5 separate regions of the Homo sapiens genome follow, and all the other regions are linked to region 1. Evidence: promoter capture Hi-C in 16 types of primary human blood cells and fetal thymus (Javierre and others, 2016). All regions are on one chromosome and are shown on one strand. Each heading gives the region's core, a stretch centred on a gene start or on the middle of the fragment in contact. The rest is flanking DNA. Distances are from core to core; before and after follow the strand shown. Region 1 holds the start of WBP1 (WW domain binding protein 1). Region 2 has its middle 20 kb from the start of TPRKB. Region 3 overlaps DUSP11 (dual specificity phosphatase 11). Region 4 overlaps TPRKB (TP53RK binding protein). Region 5 has its middle 3.5 kb from the start of DGUOK.

What was found. Contacts are between HindIII fragments. The CHiCAGO score rates a contact against its expected background, and 5 or more counts as called.
Region 2: a fragment that was not itself captured here is called in contact with the fragment with the promoter of WBP1 in region 1 in 2 of 17 cell types (naive CD8 T cells and non-activated CD4 T cells); the score reaches 5.3 in naive CD8 T cells.
Region 3: a contact is called between a fragment that was not itself captured here and the fragment with the promoter of WBP1 in region 1, in 8 of 17 cell types (non-activated CD4 T cells, total CD8 T cells, activated CD4 T cells and 5 more). The highest score is 10.2, in non-activated CD4 T cells.
Region 4: a contact is called between a fragment that was not itself captured here and the fragment with the promoter of WBP1 in region 1, in 12 of 17 cell types (naive CD8 T cells, non-activated CD4 T cells, total CD8 T cells and 9 more). The highest score is 21.9, in naive CD8 T cells.
Region 5: a fragment that was not itself captured here is called in contact with the fragment with the promoter of WBP1 in region 1 in 2 of 17 cell types (non-activated CD4 T cells and fetal thymus); the score reaches 5.5 in non-activated CD4 T cells.

The regions. Positions count from the first base shown.
Region 1 is chr2:74,457,068-74,459,767 of GRCh38, reverse strand. It overlaps WBP1 (WW domain binding protein 1), which reads right to left and starts at 1,330. Exons shown (of 4, transcript NM_012477.4): 1 at 1,097-1,330; 2 at 23-125. The coding sequence starts at 1,165. INO80B (INO80 complex subunit B) reads right to left here. Exons shown (of 5, transcript NM_031288.4): 5 at 1,824-2,434. The coding sequence ends at 1,904. It overlaps INO80B-WBP1 (INO80B-WBP1 readthrough (NMD candidate)), which reads right to left. Exons shown (of 8, transcript NR_037849.1): 5 at 1,908-2,434; 6 at 23-125. RefSeq lists enhancers at 898-1,007, 945-1,452, 1,678-1,827, 1,453-1,959, 2,458-2,527 and a silencer at 2,078-2,317. The HindIII fragment of the contact is 3,318 bases long and covers 883-2,700 here.
Region 2 is chr2:73,756,377-73,759,076 of GRCh38, reverse strand. No RefSeq gene overlaps it. Among named protein-coding and RNA genes, the nearest start is that of TPRKB, 20 kb to the right of the region's middle. The HindIII fragment of the contact is 3,192 bases long and covers 1-2,700 here.
Region 3 is chr2:73,772,586-73,775,285 of GRCh38, reverse strand. DUSP11 (dual specificity phosphatase 11) reads left to right here. Exons shown (of 9, transcript NM_003584.3): 3 at 242-373; 4 at 1,363-1,486. Among named protein-coding and RNA genes, the nearest start is that of DUSP11, 6.2 kb to the left of the region's middle. The HindIII fragment of the contact is 1,793 bases long and covers 468-2,260 here.
Region 4 is chr2:73,731,945-73,734,644 of GRCh38, reverse strand. TPRKB (TP53RK binding protein) reads left to right here. Exons shown (of 5, transcript NM_016058.5): 2 at 54-216; 3 at 2,360-2,482. The coding sequence starts at 76. Among named protein-coding and RNA genes, the nearest start is that of TPRKB, 4.0 kb to the left of the region's middle. The HindIII fragment of the contact is 4,504 bases long and covers 1-2,700 here.
Region 5 is chr2:73,922,044-73,924,743 of GRCh38, reverse strand. No RefSeq gene overlaps it. Among named protein-coding and RNA genes, the nearest start is that of DGUOK, 3.5 kb to the left of the region's middle. The HindIII fragment of the contact is 4,500 bases long and covers 1-2,700 here.

The DNA of each region.
Region 1 (2,700 bases), core at 81-2,580:
AATAGCCCTCTTGGAGACTTACACCAGAGCTCATAGTAGTAGGTGCAGCAGCCAGTCTCCCCGCAGCAGTGACCACTCTCACAGAGGTAGGGCTGGTTGTTCACTCCTGGGCACAGCTCTCGAAGCTGCGGGCAAGGAGGCACTTAGAACTAAGGGGGATTCCAGCCCAGGGCACTGTCCACCCCCACCTCCTGCATGCACATACACAATCCCACCCTGTGAACCAAGTTCAGCTTGGAGAGATGGGGGAAGTGGAGGATGCTGAGAGGAGTGTTGAAATATCTGAAGGGCTGTCAACGTGGAAGAGGATTTGGAATAGCAAGAATCAGTCTAGAGAACAAGACAAAAGTGTGGACATACAAAGAGGGAGATTTCAGCTCTGCATATATGAGACTTCCTTCACACTCAAGCCTCACTCTCCCCAACCCCCCTACCCCCATCCCCTCGGTGCTTTCTGTTAAGGGAGTGTTTTGGCAGAAGCCAGAAGACAGTCTGAGATAATCTCAGTCTCAGACAACGGGTAGCGGTAGGTCATTTCCAAAGCAAGTTGCTTTCATTATCCTGCGCGGTTCACTACCCCCCACCCGCAACTGGATCTTTCCACCCCTGGGCCTCAGGCTCCCTAGGATAGAGGAGGGGCAGTGTGAGACCCAGAGCAGTGCTCCCAACCAGATGGGATTGCTGTGGATGATAAAGGATGGCATCCAGGGCGCGAGTCTGGGTTCCAGCTCTTCTCCAAATTGCTCCCTCAAGAGAAGACGCTGCCGGACTCTGTTGTGACAATAGGCACATAGAAAAAGATCACAAATAACTGTTGCAAGACAGAGGGAGCCTCCCTGGGACCTCACTATGCCTCTGGTCACTGGAGAGCCACCGCAAGCTTCCACTGCAGCCATGGGATGGGTTCTATGAGGCTACAGGCAAAGTCAGCTGCATCTACGTTACAAAGTTTAGACAAAGAGTGGAAGAGACATGTTTAGGAACTTCACAGTACCTTTGGCTCCGTGAGTTCCTCCCCCACCCCCAAAAGGAAGGGACAAGGAAAGGGGAAAGAGACAAATGGCTGTCGTGATAGGTTTTGGAGCTATTGGGATACCTGCTGTTGCGGCGCCCGAAGTGCCCCCCAGGCCTCCTCGCTGCCGTTCCCGCTGCTGGCCCGAGCCATACCTCCACCTACAGCCCCCTGAGGACCACAGCCTCCTCTACCGCCAGCCGCCCCGCCCCTGCCACCTCTGCTGCCACCGCCATGGTCCCTGCCCGGCCCATCTTCGCTGAGGCCACCATCACTCCGCGGCCGGAGCTTCCATCCGGGCAGAACTCCACCAACTAGGACTCAGATTGCTCTGCCCTACCAATCATCATCGTCCCTTGACGGACGGGCCAATAGGAACAGATCAGAGGTTTCTCCCTGTGACCAATCCACAGCAGCGCCTCCGCCGCTCACCCAGACAACAAGAGCTTGTACAGACAAAGAGTAGGTGAAGGTTCGACCCACGGCCCTGACTGACAGCGGCAATAGCCAATACAGACAACAGAACAGGCTCTGGCATATCAACCAACGAACAGCCGCCCCGAAGAGCAAGGTTGCCGCTGATTGGCTTGCGGTATGTTTTCGGAATGACGCCAAAGGCCGAAGCACGCCAGGTAATCCCGGCTGGAAGAGGCGGAGTCCCAAAAGTCGGTCCGCTGGTTTGCAGCCTGGTTTTTTGCGGTGGTTTCCAAGCCCCAGGCATCGACGCAAGCTCCGACAGGGGCAAAATACGTGTATACCGGAGACTGGTCTGCCCACAACATCCCACTCCCCCAGTTCTGTACAAGCCGAAGCACCGGATGTAATTTAATAGGGTGGGGAAGATACTCAAGAGCGGGCATGGGACGGGGCGCAGAGTCCGGGTTAAGGGCCTTACGTAGCCAAAAGGGGGGATCCAGGACCCTCGGGCCCCCCCAGCCGCATCTGCAGGTTGATGCGGTAGCACTGAAGACTACAGAGTGCCTGGCCTGTGCGGGAGCAAGCGTAGCGGCGCGGATGGGGACAGCCGGGGACAGAGCAGCGCGGCGGCGGGCCTGAGGGGGATGGCCGCTGAGACACTGCCGTGGGGGCGGGGACGCCAGGTGGGAAGGAAAGGGTGGAACCCTGTGCTCCGCTGCAGTAGCGCACCATGGGGGCCGGAGCCGCAGCCCGCCCTCCCCGCCGCTCGCCCCGTGCGCCCCCCCGGCCTCCCCGCCCACTGGTCGCCGCAGTCTTGGTGAGGCGCTCGATAGTCTGGTTCTTGTGCTCTTCTGCCCGCCGCGCCGCCTGGAGCCGCCGCTTCCGCGCCCGCTCCTCGCGCTTCAGCAGCATCTCCTCTGTGAGGGCGGGAGGTGGGCAGCCCTCAGCTACAGGCAGCGGCAGCATAGGGGAAGGTTGACTCCGCGCCTTCTGGAGCAGAGCTCGCTAGGGAGAGACAGAGACGGGGTGCTGTCTGAAAATGGAGGAAGATGGAGAGGCGAGGTCGGCCAGATCGGGGGAGGGGAAAGAAGGGACATGGAAGGCAGGGTCTTGAGCAGTGCAGGCCTTCGGAGGCGGGATATTAATTAATGAGCACCCTCTCCAGGACACCTTCCATAGGTTCCTCTTCATAAATACTGCCTCCTCCCAGATCTCCTGACATTTAGCTTTAGGTCCTTATCTCTCAAGGGGAGAAGCATCAGTAATGTTAC
Region 2 (2,700 bases), core at 26-2,525, 700 kb after region 1:
AGCCCTCAAACCCTACGAGCTTCTGTAGGCTATCTGCATAATGTGCCCATTGTAGGAAAAGATTGGTTTCAGCAGACACCGTAAGCCATATAGTACTGTGGTGCTTAGCAAGAAGGCTTTACTTATCTGTGGATGTTTTCTTCAAAAGCAGCTTCAGGTTTTTAGTTGGTTCACATGTCCTTTCAGGTCTATTAACCTGATAGGTCGGGCTGAGGCGGGGGCAATTTTTATCCAGGTATAATGTACCCACGGTTTAACTCCTGCCCAATTGATGAATGCGTGGTCAGAAGGACCTCATAGGGTCTTACCCTTTGAGGGGCTAGTTGGTGATTCAGTCCAGTCTCCCTCCAGGTTTTAAGTAGAACTTGGTCTCTAGCCTAGAAAGGGTGAGGTGGCCTGTCCATGGGGAAGAAGCAAACTCATGAACAGAAGTCGGTATTTCATTTAGCAATTTTAAATAATGTCTAATAGCTCCTTCCCTTTCTAAGATTTTATAGCCTGATCTAGCCCCAATGTGGCTAGGAAGGGTCTCTCATACATAATTTCTAAAGGGCTCAACTAGAGCCTGTTTCAGGGAATGACCCAAATCCTCAGCAGGAGAGAAGGTAGTACTTTGTCCCAAGTTAGATTAGTTTCCTGGCACACTTTAGCAGCAGTTTTTTTTTTTTGTTTTTTTGTTTTTTTTGTTTTTGAGACAGTCTCACTCTGTCGCCCAGGCTGGAGTGGAGTGGCATGATCACGGCTCACTGCAATCTCTACCTCCCGGCTTCAAGCAATTCGTGTGCCTCAGCCTCCCAAGCAGCTGGGACTAAGGGCATGCGCCTCCACGTCCAGCTAATTTTTTTGTATTTTTAGTAGAGATGGGGTTTGCCATGTTGGCCAGGCTGGTCTCAAACTCCTGGGCTCAAATAATCCACCTGCCTTGGCCTCCCAAAGTGCTGGGATTACAGGTATAAGCCACCACACCTGGCCTAATTGTTCTTTAAATAGTTTGATTCAGTTTTTTAGTCTTTCCGGTGGGCTGTGGCTGTGCTGCATGAAGTTTCCATTCAATGTCTAGGACTTGAGACACTTCCTGTACTACCTGAGAGATGAACACCGCACCATGGTCACTCTGAATCGTCAAAGGGAGTTCATACTGGGGAATTATCTCTTTAGTATAGTGTGGGCCACTTCAGCTCCCTTTCTGTTCGGATAGGGTATGCCTCTACCCATCCTGTAAATGTGTCTACAAAAAACAAAAAGATGTTTTTTGTACAAAAAGATGCCCTGTAGCCTCCAGGCACCCGTGGCATTGTGGTGAAATTAACTTGCCAGTCCTTGCATGGAGAGTCTCCTCAATGTTGTACCCTTGAACAGGGGTGGGGTCAGTTTTAGGGCAGTTTGGGCACAAAGCATGCATTGATAGATCACATTTTGAATGACCCCATTGCATGTCGGGGTCAATCAAGAACTCACATGCCATTGAAGGGTTGCATCTTTTCTGTAATGGATGCTTTGATGAAACTAGCTCACTATATCTTTAAGGAGGGCACTGGGAACCAATACGATACCTTCCAGATTACATTTCCAGCCTGGATGGGCCAGGGCTGGGATGTGAATCCCCATTCCTTGGCTCACTTTAAATCTCCTTTGGTATAGCAAGGTTGGAACTTGGTCAGATCATTGTGAGGTATTAGTGGGGCTAAGAAAGCCTCAGAGTCCAATGTTTTTGTGGCTTGCTTGGCTGCCAGGTCGGCAAGCTAATTTCCTTTGACTATTCGGGAGTCTCCTTTTTGATGGCTGGGACAGTGGATGATAGCCACTATTAGAGGGGGCATTTACTGATTTTTTTTTTTTTTTTTTTTTTTTTTTTTTTTTTTTTAGATAGAGTCTCACTCTGTTGCTCAGGCTAGGGTGCAGTGGCACAATCTCGGCTCACTGCAACTTCTGCCTCCCGGGTTCAAGTGATTCTCCTGCCTCAGCCTCCCAAGTAGCTGGGACTACAGGCATGTGTCACCGTGCCTGGCTAATTTTTATATTTTTTAGTAGAGACGAGGTTTCACCATGTTGGCCAGGCTGGTCTTGAACTCCTGACCTTAGGTGATTCACCCGCCTCAGCCTCCCAAAGTGCTGGGATTATAGGCATGAGCCACCATGCCTGGCCTTTTACAGATTCTAATAAGGCCAAAATATCAGAAGTATATTTGATTTCTTTATTTTTGCTAGTCAAAAGACCTCTCTCTACATAGCTCTGTGGGCATGTGCCACCAAGAAATCATATTGGGAGTCTATGTAAATATTCATAATTTTTTTTCTTACCCAATTGGAGGGCATGCATAAGGGCACCTTGGCCCACTGAGCTGAGGTGCCTAGCAATAAGGCTTTGGCTTCCTTAATTCCTTGTAAGGTAATGACCTCAAATTCAGCATGATGATGTCCATGGTCCATGAAGCTGCTTGCATCTGTGAACAGTCCTAGTTTGGAGCACAGCAGGGGCTGATCTGCCAGGTCTGGTTGCCTTGGAAAGACCTGCTCATTAATTGGAAGGCAATTTTGTATGGGCCCTGGCTCCTTCTCTGGAGGTATTAAGGTAGCAGAGTTAAGAACCGAGAACACCTTTAACTTCACCTCTGGATTGTCAAGGAGGGTGGATGGCTTGGTATTTTCCCAACCTCTCAGAGGTCAGCCAGTATCCACCTTTTTGATCTAAGAGACAGG
Region 3 (2,700 bases), core at 115-2,614, 680 kb after region 1:
CAGTCTGATTAGGAGACCAACATGAAACAAATACAGAAATACATATATAGAAGTGGGCTTATTTTTTTCTTTCTGACCACTCTGGAAGAAAGGATTGTTGTAATATACCTTCTATGTTCCAGGAGAATGGAAACTTTCCTTTGAATCTCGTTGTATGTTAGCATCACAGGACTTGAATAAATGCCTAATGTAGTACAGGATTTTAAGCACATATTTGCTCTTATTTCATTCTCTGTGACAGAGTTTTGAAAAGAAACTTGCTCCAGAAGAATGCTTTTCCCCTTTGGATCTTTTTAACAAAATCCGAGAACAAAATGAAGAACTTGGACTGATTATTGATTTAACATATACTCAACGCTATTATAAACCAGAGGTAAGTGGAACCCTTCAATGAAAAGAACTTTCTTCCTTCTGATCCTAAAATAATTTATAGTAATTCAGTAATCATCTTGTGCTAATGTGAAGCTTGGCCTTCTTTGATGGGTAGTAAGTTTAAAAGAGAACCAAGTGATTTCTCTAATTACATGTTTTTAATTGCTGTCTTAAATGGAATATTATTCAGCCATAAAAAAGAATAGATTTAATACGTGCTACAATATGGATGAACCTTAAAAACATGCTTAGTGAAATAAACCAGACACAGAAGGACAAATATATGATTCCACTTGTATGAAGTACCTAGAATAGACAAATTCACAGAGACAGAAAGCAGACTAAAGGATCTATGAGGTGGGGAGAAAAGGGAATTATGGTTTAGTGGTCAGAGTCTTTTTGTCGGGGATGATGAAAAAGTTTTGGGTATAGACAGTGGTGATGGTTACACAATACTGTGAATGTAATGCCACTGAACTATACACTTGTGGATGGTTAAAATGATTTTGACTTAGCCTCTTCTGTCTTTTATCTGTATCTACTTTTCTCCCACCCCAAGAATATCGGTTCTCAATAGTGCCTGGAATTCCCTCTATCTCACAATTCAAATCCAAGTTCTTCTGACTCTATTCTCTACTCTTCTACTTAAATCATAGCTGCTTTATGAAGGCACTGGCCCTTGAATTATAAAATATTAAATGGAACTGTTTATATAATTTATAGTTAAATATGCATTCATTCACATGGAATTTGCTTTCAGTTTTGTATACCTAGTGACTATCTATTATGTAGTTTTATTGAAAATCAAGTGATACTTCCTGGTTGAAGCAGTGTTGGAAAAAATGGCTCTTTTATCAGAATTGTGTATACTGATATTGGCATATTAAGTTTGTTATAATCTCTTGGCTTATATTCTGGGTCCCCTAATTACTCTTTAATTATTTCTCTACAAGTGAAATAATACACATCTTTTATGGTTTTGCTTTATAGGATTTGCCAGAAACTGTTCCTTACTTAAAAATTTTTACAGTTGGACATCAAGTGCCTGATGATGAGACTATTTTTAAATTCAAACACGCTGTTAATGGGTTTTTGAAAGAAAATAAAGATAATGGTGAGTTTTTGTTCTTACCTGAACTGTGGTGTGCATTATGAATGGGGTTGGGGATTTTTGGTATTTTTTTATAGTTCCAACCTCAGACCTGTTGTATTTAATGATGCTAAGGTGATGAAAATGTCAGATGGTGCTAATAGGGTAAGATGTTTTTCCTTTTGTTGATCACAAATAATTTAACTTTGGAATGTTAAATTAGTTTTAGTGCAAAATATGAACTGAACTGGCTCATCTTTCTTTTTTAATTTGAATGAGAAATATATAAAATTAAAATGTTATTTTTGTCTTCTATATTGGTTAAGAAGTGAGAAGTAGAAGAAAAGATTAAAAAACTCTGAGTCTTAGAGTTATGTGAAAGAGACAAGAAAGGGCAAAGATTAAGAATGGGACGGACCCCTAGAAGCAAAACAAGAAAGAGTGCACCAGTGGAATTGCCCCTTTGTCATATGTATTTAAGACACATGTATACATATGTAACAAACCTGCACGTTGTGCACATGTACCCTAAAACTTAAAGTATAATTAAAAAAAAGATATTTCTGCTGTTTTTCCGCTTTGAGTACAGATGGGGAAGGATACCACCACCTCTTATTCTTCACATGGGAGAACTTAAGCCAAAGGCTGGTGCTTTCTTGTTCCTGCTTTAAGATTTACCTTACTCTTTTGAAAATAGAACTTAACAGCTTCTTTATCTTAAGGATCCAGTTGCCTTTTTCTGGCATCTCTCTGCCAGAAAGAACATGATATTTGTCATATTTTAAGACTGAAGAAGCTTTTATCTTTGGAAAGCCACTGACACCCACAGGACAGAGGCTTCATTTGCCTTCTTTCCAAATTTAGCTTGAGGAGTGTACACTTTGTTACATAAATCTGACAGTAAATACTCCTTTTTAAAAAATGTGATGGAGTAGTGGAGAAAGAATAGAGACAGAGGTGGGAAGATAGGGAATGGAAGGTGAGAGATAGAGACTGGATCAGTGGGTTTGAAGATAAAATTTCAAATTGTAACCTAGTCGCTCACTTAATGTGGACACTAGCTTTTAATTATGTTAAACCTTGTTCACAGATCTTCCCCTGTACTTTAACTTTAAAACTTGAGAGGTTTGGCTTTCCCATTTGTATAAGCTGTTGTCACAGAAATACTACCTTTTAAGATATGAGGGTACAGCTGATGGCCTATTCACTGCTTCCAGGCTCTTTTCTGTGAAATTTTT
Region 4 (2,700 bases), core at 44-2,543, 730 kb after region 1:
TTCTGATGTTAACTTTTAAATGAAATCTTTTGGTCTTTTCATTTTGTGTGCAGTAGAATCCTGCTTATCTGTGAAATGCAGTTAACACATCAGCTGGACCTATTTCCCGAATGCAGGGTAACCCTTCTGTTATTTAAAGATGTAAAAAATGCGGGAGACTTGAGAAGAAAGGCCATGGAAGGCACCATCGATGGATCACTGATAAATCCTACAGTGGTAAATATAAATTTTAAGAATGAATGAGCCTGCTGGGTGCGGTGGCTCACGCCTGTAATGCCAGCACTTTAGGAGGCCGAGGCGGGTGGATCATCTGAGGTCAGGAGTTGAAGACCAGCCTGGCCAACATGGTGAAACCCTGTCTCAACTAAAAATACAAAAATTAGCTGGGCGTGGTGGCGGGCGCCTATAATCCCAGCTACTCGGGAGGCTGAGGCAGGAAAATCATTTGAACCCTGGAGGCAGAGGTTGCAGTGAGCCAAGATTGCGCCATTGCACTCCAGCCTGGGCGACGAGCAAAACTCTGTCTGGAAAAAAAAAATGGCCAGGCATGGTAGCTCACGCCTGTAATCCCAGCCCTTTGGGAGGCCGAGGCAGGCAGATCATGAGGTCAGGAGTTTGAGACCAGCCTGGCCAATATGGTGAAACCCTGTCTCTACTAAAAATACAAAAATTAGCTGAGCATGGTGGTGGGCACCTGTACTCAGGAGACTGAGGCAGGAGAATCGCTTGAGCCTGGGAGGCAGAGGTTGCAGTGAGCCGAGATTGTGCCACTGCACTCCAGCCTGGGCAACAGACCAAGAATCCGCCTCAAAAAAAAAAAAAAAAAAAAAGAATGAATGAGCCATACAGGGCATTTAAGTATACATTAATATTTGTGATGTTATAGGGTAGCCTAAAAATCTGTCACGGTTAGGGAAAAAATTCTTGTCCAAGTCAGATGCAGCCAACTTTGACTATAACAGTGAATAGAGGCAGAAGTGCCAGGTCCTGCCCTAGGAAATAGGAAAGGTTGTGGTCTGGGTCTAATATGGGAAATGCCTGGATCTCCAGCTTCTCATCTTTAAAATGGGGGTTCCTAACAAGACAGTCTGTAGAGGAGGAATAGTGTAGTGGTTAAGAGTACACACAGAGGCCAAGGTGGGTGGATTGCTTGAGGCCCGGAGTTTGAGACCAGCCTGGCCTACATAGTGAAACCGTGTCTCTACTAAAAATACAAAAAGTAGCTGGGTGTGGTGGTGTGTGCTGGTAGTCCCAGCTACTCGGGAGGCTGAGGCACAAGAATCATTTGAACCTGGGAGGCGGAGGTTACAGTGAATTGAGATTGAGCCACTGCATTCCAGCCTGGGCAATGGAGCGAGAGACTCTGTCTGTCTCCAAAAAAAAAAAAAAACAAAAAAACAGGGCACACGCAGTGCGATCATGTTACCGGGAATTAATCCCAGACCTACTACTTAGGCCTTTGAACAAGACATAACCAACCTTTATATAGTGCTTACTGCATTCCTAGCATTGTTCCAAGTGCTTTACGTATACTAACTTGCTTAATCTTCACAACAGCCTATGGAGTGAATACTGTTTCATCGGTCTCTAACAAATAAAATGCTAATGAACTTGCATAAGTTTCCTAGGTGATAGGTGACAGAGATGGGATTCAAACCCAGACATTCTTTGCCTCAATTTCCTCATCAATTACATACTACTACTACTGCTACTACTACTAATAATAGTGTCAATTTCATAGGGTAGTTTTGAGGATTAAAGAAAATATTACAAGTAAAATGTTTGCAATATGATCATGCCCATAATATTAGCCCTCAATTAATGTTATTTAAAAAAATTTTACTATTTGCATAAGTTCCTTGCAGCTTTAAAATTCTGTGATTTCCTGACTACCCAGGCCCTTGGGATAATAGTTGTTTTTTGTTTTTTTTTTTTTTGAGACAGTTTCACTCTTGTTGCCCAGGCTGGAGTGCAATGGCGCGATCTTGGCTCACGGCAACCTCTGCCTCCCGGGTTCAAGCAATTGTCCTGCCTCAGCCTCCTGAGTTGCTGGGATTACAGGTGCGTGCCACCACGCCTGACTAATTTTTGTATTTTTAGTAGAGAGGGTTTCGCCGTGTTGGCCAGGCTGGTCTTGAACCCTGACGTCAGGTGATCTACCCACCTTGGCCTCCCAAAGTGCTAGGATTACAGGTGTGAGCCACCGTGCCCAGCCGGGATAATAGTTTTGAAAATACAGACCGTAAGAATTGTGATGAAGTAAAACAGCTTGACACTGGAGTTAACCATGAGTTACCATGTGTTTTCAGGCACTGCAGATTCTCCATGTGTAATTAATTCTTTTTCCTTGCTTTGGTAGATTGTTGATCCATTTCAGATACTTGTGGCAGCAAACAAAGCAGTTCACCTCTACAAACTGGGAAAAATGAAGACAAGAACTCTATCTACTGAAATTATTTTCAACCTTTCCCCAAATAACAATGTAATGTGCACTTTCCTATTTCTGTTGACCGTGTCATAATAACATATGTGTTCCTCAGTGTTGGGTTGGAGGCTAAATTCCTGCAAGCCAGTGGTTAGTAATAAACCCAAATAATAGTGAAGAGAGCTCTGGACAGAGAGTTGAGGTTTAACCCTGCCTCTTACTAAGACAGTTTACATATGAGTAAACAAAAATTTAGCTAAATTAAGCGAGGTTAA
Region 5 (2,700 bases), core at 186-2,685, 540 kb after region 1:
AGTGTGGTGGTGGGCTCCTGTAGTCCCAGCTACTCAGGAGGCTGAGGCAGGAGAATGGCCTGAACCGGGGAGGCGGAGCTTGCAGTGAGCCGAGATCGCGCCACTGTGCTCCAGCCTGGGCGACAGAGCGAGACTCCGTCTCAAAAAAAAAAAAAAAAAAAAATTATGGTAAAGCATAGTATGTAGTGAGGAAAAGAGGATGTGTTGTGCAGTGAGGAAAAGAGGATGTGTTGTAAGTGTACAGTTCAATGAAGTTTTCACAAATGGAATGACTGTTACCTGGATTCAGATCAAGAAACAGCATTATCCGCATCTCCAGAATCCCCCATATTCGTTGCCAGTTACTATCCCTCAAAGATAACCATTAGCCTGACTTCAACAGTAGAGATTAGTTTTGCGTTTTCTTTATATAAATGGAATTATATAGTAAATACTTCTTTTATTTAACATATCTGTGAGATTCATCCAGGTTGAATGTATTAGTTGTAGTTCACTCATTCTCATTGCTGTATAGTATTCCACAATGTCACTATACCACAATGTACTCGGAAGTTTCTAGATTTGAGCCATAATGAATAGTGTTGCGGTAAATATTCTTGTACATGTCTTTTGGTAAAAAGAAGTATGCATTTCTCTTGGGTGTATAAGTAAGACTGGAACTGCTGTGTAATAAGTTACATATATATGCTCAGCTTTGATAGATATTCCCAAATAGTAGATAGTTCCACAGTGTTTGTTCTAGTTGACATTGCCATCATCAGTGAGAGAGAGTTCTGGTTTTCCCACATTCTTACCAACAGTTGATATTGTCAGCTTTTTAAATTTTATCCATTTTGCTGTGTGTAATTATAACTTATTGTGGTTTTAATTTGCATTTTCCTGCTGATTAATGAAGTCAAACATCTTTTTGTATGTTTATTGGTCATTTCAGTATCCTCTGTTGAAGTCTTATGTCCATTTTTCTATTGGTTGTCTTTTGCTTGTCTTATTCTTCAAATATTCTGGATGAGTCCTTTGTGAATATTTTATCTCTGTGGTTTGCTTCTTTTCTTTTCTTTTCTTTTCTTTTCTTTTCTTTTCTTTTCTTTTCTTTTCTTTTCTTGTGTTGAGACAGAGTCTCTTGCCCAGGCTGGAGTGCAGTGGGGCAATCTTGGCTCACTGCAACCTCCATCTCCTAGATTCAAGCGATTCTCATGCTTCAGCCTCCCAAGTAGCTGGGATTACAGGCATGTGCCATGCCCGACTAATTTTTTGTATTTTTAGTAGAGACGGGGTTTTGCTATGTTGGCCTGGCTGCTCTTGAGCTCCTGGCCTCAAGTTATCCACCCACCTCTGCCTCCCAAAGTGCTGGGATTACAGGTATGAGCCACAGCACCCAGCCTCTAAAAACATTCAAAATTTTTTTGATGTAGAGTGTAATGTAAGAAACTAAAATATCTTTTGCCTAAGTTGCCTGTCAGTTATCTTAATTCATTAGTAATAATCTTTCTACCCCCCTTTAGTTATCTATGCTTGTTTTGTTAAATGTTTTTTATTTATTTAGGTCCCAATTCCAAATTCCCAGAAGGGAGAATCTGATTGGCCCAGCTGTGTTCAGGTATCTAATCATGGTTCAATCAGCTGTGGCCAAGGAAGAGGGTTGGGGCCCCACTTTTGCACATGAGGAAGTACAATTAAGGGGATCTTCATGAGGAAAGAAGACACCCCAAAGAGGTGGTGATCATTTCCTCTTCGAAGCAGTAAACACGGAGTTTTCATCCCATTTGGGTGCTAGCCAGAAGACTGAAAGTAGTGGCATATTGGTGAGTAGAATTACCTCCCCCTTACCTGGGAGAACGAGGCCACTTCCTGCCCCTGGGCGATTTTGTCCTGGGCAAAATGTTGTCCTGCAAGAACTCTAGTCATTCAGCATCCATTCATTCATCCAATATTTGCTGAGCATCTACTGCATGCCAGACACTCTGCTTAGTCCTTGAAGTGCAGCTCTGAAGGATTTACTATTTTTCCAGTGTTTCTAAATGCTACCGTATACATAAAATACTGACCAATATTATTTAAAATGTCATGCAGCCATTAAAAAAGGGAGATAAACATACAAAAATGTGGCCCAAACTTTATTCTGCAGCCTGGACTTTTAGCCAGCTATATCTCACCTACTTTGAAGATTTTATAATGTGCTGGATTGTGCTAAATCGATTTGGTTAAATTGGAAAGTACACTTCCAGAACGCCCTACCAACAAGGCTCTGAGTTAGAGTTGGCCAAAAGAGGACCTGGGGTGAGATTTGGAAGGCAGAGTGGGAGTGTCAGCCATTCCTCTGTGGAAATCTTCTAGTCAGATGCTATGACAGACAGAGGTGCCCAGCAGATAGGTTTCACCTAGTCCTCCACCCATTTGTGACTCCTCTTGGAGTATCCCACAGTTCCTTGCAGACTTTCACTTTTCCAGCTCCTTCAGTCTTTGGGGAAAGTGTCATTCCTGTAATAAAGCCCTTATTCCCATAATACCCATAATGGCTCTGCTCCCCTGAATGAACTGTATTGATACACCTAATCATAAAGGGAGACGTATCAAAAGGTGGTTAACAGTGTGGGCTCTGGATTCCAGTGACCTGGGGGTGAGGATTAAGAGAGAGAATCCACCTGCCACACCTGCCACACAGTTACCACCCAATAGACATTATATAACACATAATAAGTA